2 separate regions of the Homo sapiens genome follow, and region 2 is linked to region 1. The links are contacts of gene promoters, found by promoter capture Hi-C in human tissues and cell types (Jung and others, 2019). All regions are on one chromosome and are shown on one strand. Each heading gives the region's core, a stretch centred on a gene start or on the middle of the fragment in contact. The rest is flanking DNA. Distances are from core to core; before and after follow the strand shown.

The links. Contacts are between HindIII fragments. The study calls those that stand out against the background at their distance.
Region 2: a contact is called between a fragment that was not itself captured here and the fragment with the promoter of LRP8 in region 1, in 2 of the 25 tissues and cell types used here (mesendoderm cells and thymus).

What each region holds. Positions count from the first base shown.
Region 1 is chr1:53,326,820-53,329,519 of GRCh38, reverse strand. It overlaps LRP8 (LDL receptor related protein 8), which reads left to right and starts at 1,450. Exons shown (of 19, transcript NM_004631.5): 1 at 1,450-1,731; 2 at 2,528-2,647. The coding sequence starts at 1,608. LRP8-DT (LRP8 divergent transcript) reads right to left here and starts at 1,287. Exons shown (of 3, transcript NR_131923.1): 1 at 1,145-1,287. RefSeq lists enhancers at 1,014-1,243, 2,294-2,403 and silencers at 1,314-1,513, 1,584-1,733, 1,784-1,953, 2,469-2,700. The HindIII fragment of the contact is 17,458 bases long and covers 1-2,700 here.
Region 2 is chr1:53,416,332-53,419,031 of GRCh38, reverse strand. No RefSeq gene overlaps it. Among named protein-coding and RNA genes, the nearest start is that of DMRTB1, 42 kb to the left of the region's middle. The HindIII fragment of the contact is 3,198 bases long and covers 1-2,700 here.

The sequences.
Region 1 (2,700 bases), core at 201-2,700:
GCACATATAGGTGAAAGGACGCCTGCATTTCGTTGTCTGTGTGCTAATGGTCTGTCTCCCCACAGGTCAGGGACCTCTCCGGGGCTGGCACCATGCCTGATTCACCTTGGTACCCGCAGGCCCAGCACAGGGTTGGCACAGAACAGGGCCTGAAATGCTTGCTGAATGACTGAATGAACAAGGGACAGGAGGGGTGATGATGGCAGGAGCACCGTGCCGGGCTCTCTGGGGATCTAAGTCCCTTTCTGGTGGGGTGGCCACAGATATTGCCGCTGGGCTGCCCTTTGGGGGACTACGGCTCAGGAGGCTGCTGAGGAGACAGGGTGGTTTCCAGGCCAAGGGCTAACAGCACCTGCCCATCCGCGAGGGAGGTGAAGGGGCAAGAGGGGAGGGAGGGTGGACCTAACACTGGCTCTTGGCACCTGCAGGCCGGTTGTTTTGAGTGGCCAATGCCCTGGAATCTCATTCTCTAAAGAAGGTTGTGTGGGTTGGACCCGGCTCACAAGTCTGAGGCTGAAATCGAATCCCAGCTCGCTCTCCGCACCCATTCTCCCCAGTGTGGGTGAGGCGGGCTGCAGCCCTCCAGAGGAAGAGGTGCCTTCTCCTTCCTGCAGAAGACAGCAGGGGCGGACAGCGCGGGCCTAGGTGCGCGGCCCCTAGCGGCAGGGATGGCATCCCTTCCGTGCCCTCCCCTTCCCCCCCGCCCGGCCCGCCCCACAGACCTCGTCTTTCTCCATCACAGCGAGGATTCCTTGTCTTCCCTGCGGGCCCCCCCTGGTTGCCCCTCTGACTAGGGGCCTGGAGCGTACTTAACGACGATGAATAGTCTGTGCACCAGGCCCAATCCACCTGCCTCACGTCCCCATGATCACATGAGCGTGCAACATGCACAGATGCACATGGCACGGAAACCAAACCAGCCACAGGGATTTATAATATCCCAGCCGGAGCCCATGACAGGTGCAGGGGTCCAGCCCTGCGCCCCCAGCTTCTCCCTGCTCATCCACATCTTGGGATCTCACCCCTATCCCTCCCTCCCCCGCCCCACGCGCACACTGCACAGGCCTGTTCGTCCTGTAACATCATTTCCCCTCCCGCCCAGGCTCACTCCTAGACATCCCTCAGCCTCTGATCCGCCTGTCACCTCCTCCAGGAAGCCTCTGCTGCTTCCTCTGGACCTGCTACCTCCGTGGTGAGGGGCTCGCCTGGCCCATCCCTGCGTCTGCAGAGCCCAGCACTCAGGCGAGCCCAGAGCAGGGCCGTGGAGCGCCCGCTGAGAGAAGAGTGGACGAAAGACAGGAGGGAGGAGGGCGAGGAGGCGGCGGCAGGGGGAGCGTGGGGCGGAGGCGGCAGCGGGAGGGAGCGCGCGCGCTGGCGGCGGCCGCCCAGGGCCGGGGCCGCGCGCCCAGCCTGAGCCCGCCCCGCCGCCGAGCGTCACCGAACCTGCTTGAAATGCAGCCGAGGAGCCGGGGCGGGCGGCAGCGGCGGCGGCGGCGGCGGCGGGGGCAGCGGCAACCCCGGCGCCGCGGCAAGGACTCGGAGGGCTGAGACGCGGCGGCGGCGGCGCGGGGAGCGCGGGGCGCGGCGGCCGGAGCCCCGGGCCCGCCATGGGCCTCCCCGAGCCGGGCCCTCTCCGGCTTCTGGCGCTGCTGCTGCTGCTGCTGCTGCTGCTGCTGCTGCAGCTCCAGCATCTTGCGGCGGCAGCGGCTGATCCGCTGCTCGGCGGCCAAGGTGCGTGCAGCCGGTCTCTGACTCGGCTCTGCTCCGCCCTAGCCACCAACAAAGCGCGGCCGGGAGGCCGGAGCGGGGAGGGGTCCAGAACCCGGGGCTATCGGGGGCTCCCGGGCGGACAGGCTCCACGCGAAGCGGCTATTCCTGAATTTGCCCTCGGCCCCCCGCCCCCGCGGGCCTCGGTGTTGAGGGCTCTGCCCTCTGGGCAGCGGATCTTGGGGGAGGGGTGCAGGGGGGCTTGGCCAGCGGGGAACTTTGCCGGAGGGGCGGCCATTCATGGTTCCGGATGAGCTGTGTGATTCTCGCCGTTGGGGTTTATTTGACACGCGCGCTCCGCGGCGGTAATGAGCAGAGCCGGGCGGCTTCTCCGCTTGACAATGCGTTTCCGCAGACCCCTGCGCGCGGCGGAGAGAGAGGGGGCTGCCTGCCAGGGTGATGTGCCTGCGGCTCCCACTGCGCCTGGCGCGCGGGCGCGGGGACTCCCTATGGGCTGTATCTGAGCAGATCTCTGACTATGGGTCGCGTGTGCGGGTGAGTGCGTCTGAATGGAGGGTATACCCAGGTCGTGTGACACTTTAAGTAGGTGCCTGGTCTCGCCGTGCCACCGAGCGGCCCGACATCCACGGAACCCCTGCCATCGTGCCCTCCCTTTGGATGGAGTGTGCCTGAAGCCCCCGGGGTCTCCATAATCGCCCCCTTTCCTCCTCCCCAGCGGGTCCTTCCGGGTGGCCCGGACTGCATGGTGGGGAGTGGGGCCGAGTCCGCTGATCCAGCTCACGCTCCCTCCCCCTCGCAGGGCCGGCCAAGGATTGCGAAAAGGACCAATTCCAGTGCCGGAACGAGCGCTGCATCCCCTCTGTGTGGAGATGCGACGAGGACGATGACTGCTTAGACCACAGCGACGAGGACGACTGCCGTGAGTGGCGGGCCAGGGAGCTCAGACCCGGGGAGAGAAAAGGAACGGTGGGG
Region 2 (2,700 bases), core at 82-2,581, 90 kb before region 1:
TTGTTACTATTTATAGCAGCCACTTACTGTGCCAGATATTGTGCTAAGTACTTTATATACAATGTATGGTTTATTACAACCATCTTATGAAGTTGGTATTTGTATAAGTTAGGGGGTGTGTGTGTGTGTGTGTGTGTGGCTGTAAGCAACAGAAAACCCAATACTCAACAGGTTAAACCATAAAGACATTCATTCTTAACAAGAAACCTGGAGATGGATAGACCAAGTTTGGTTCAATAGATCAGCGTTGTCCCCAGGGACCCGGGCTCTTTCAGGCCTTTGGCTCTGCTGTCTTTAGTGTGTCCGTGATGTTTCTTCTCGTGTTCATAAGACAACTGCCGCAGCACCAGACATCATGTCTCAACGGCGGCATCCAGAGTGGGAAGCAAGGGGGCAAAGGCAAACGGGCTTTCTTTTTTTCTTTCTTTCTTTCTTTTTTTTTTTTAGATGGAGTCTCGCTCTGTTGCCCAGGCTGGAGTGCAGTGGTGTGATCTTGGCTCACTGCAACCTCCCTTCTGAGGTCCAAGCCATTCTCCTGCCTCAGCCTCCCACCACAGGTGCGCACCACCTGTGATTGCAGGTGTGCACCACTACACCCAGCTAATTTTTGTATTTTTAGTAGAGATGGGGTTTCACCATGCTGGCCAGGGTGGTCTCGAACTCCTAACCTCAAGTGATCCATCCGCCTAGGTCTCCCAAAGTGCTGGGATTTCAGGCATGAACCACTGCACCCGGCCCAAATGGGCTTTCTCTTCATGTATCTCTCTTATCAGAGAGGAAAATCTTTCTCAGAAGCTTCTAGCATATTTCCCCTTCAGTCTCATTGCGTGGAATTTGATGACAAGCCTTCCCATAGGTGCTGAACAAAACTAAGATCTGTTGTCACTCATTGAAGGAGATGGAAATGGCTATTAGGTAGGCAACCAGGGTCTGTCTTGCATTATTTTCCCTATTTTACAGGTGAGGAAACTGAGGCTTAGAGAGATTAGTAAGGTCAAACTGGAAGGACAAAACCAAGATTTAAAACAGATCCGTCTGCCTCCAAAGCAGTTTGCTGTCACATTACTTGCTTTAGCCTGGAACTTGCTATAAGGCAGAGTTACTATTAATCACATCAAAAGGAATTTATTACTGAAAGTGTCAGAAAAACTGCTTTTTAACAGTGATTAATACATAATTAGGTCTCAAAGCTAGGAGTCTTTGGACAATGATGGATTCATGAATAACAGGAAACTAGGTGAGAAAAAACACAAAGACAAAGAAGTATCTTAAAAGAAAGTAAATGTTTATAATCTTTTTTGGCAGGCATCTGCAGTCTTTTAATTCTGCCCTTTCTGCCCCCGCTCCCCGCACTTGACTTTCCAGAAATGGCCAATTTCTTTCAAATGCTGTATACTGGAAAAATCCAAAGGACTCATCAGATGAACACATTTCAAAGAGCCACTACCAATTTTTTTTCTTAAGCAAAGCATCAAGCCTCTGATTTGCCGCTGATAAATTCTCTGTAAGTAGCATTATAATTAAGCACACACAAACCATTCTGTGTTTCCAAGAATACAATTGGGCTGGCACTGAATCGGTGATAGCGTGCAGGCACCGGGTGGGAGGGGTCCATTGCATCTCAACTACCATGTACCGTCTTTGTGCCGAGACCAATCCGTCTCTCTCCTTGACACCCTCTGAATCACAGGCCATTGCCCATTCACCCCATGTCTGTCACGGAGCTCTTTTATGGGGCACCTTCACTGAGCCTTGAGACTGTGGCCGTCCTGCTTCTAGGCTCTGGTCAGAGAAAATGCCAGGAAAGCAAAGTGCAACATGACTTCCTCTCTCAGCATGACTTCCTCCCACCTCCTACCAGGCTGGTGGAAAAAAAACCAATGGTGTGAAAGCAAAACTGGGAAAAGAGAGAGGCAGCTCGGGGTGGGGGTGGCAGGGGTGGCAGGAAAGGGCTGAGCGGTCAGTCAGGCTTCCAAACCTGGTTTCACTGCCCTGGCTTACAAGGCTTTGACAAGGTACCTTACCCTGACATGCCTCAGTTTCCTCCTATGTAAATGGGGAACCACAACACCAACCTTGAAGACTAATTGTGAGAATAAGCAATAATTTATGTAAAACACATGGGATATCATAAATGCTCAATATATTATAGCACTTATTATTACCAGCCTCTTAGTAAAAAGTTGACAGTCTGTTAGCACGAAACATTTAGCATGTGTTATTGTTGTGGTTGTTCTTGGATATCTACAGGATATAGTTGCTTTAAGTTTTAATGCATCAAAAAAATCCATAACCCATTTTTGGAAATTCAGCACACAGGAAAGTGAAAAGTAAGTAGCCTGGGAGTGTTGTGTGTATAGAAGTCAACAGTGGCAACCCTATCTCCCCCTGGCTTCTATGCAAACAGTTTCTTTTACAAATGTGTTTTTGGTATGCAAATCACTCTATGCAGATTTCTGTGTGTGCAAAATACAGCATAGAAAAATGGCCTTCTTGCCAAGGAAGACAGGAGATGTTGGCTGCCGTCAAATGAAATAGCAGCAAATTTTAGATTTCTTTTCCTACTGCTCTTTCTAACAATGTATGGGGTGAGCATATTTTTGGCACGTTATACTCAACTATTTTGGCTTTAGATTGTGTGTTCTTGTGATAAAAGTGTGGTTATTGAAGCATGTAACTACTTTTTGAAGCCGTAATCAT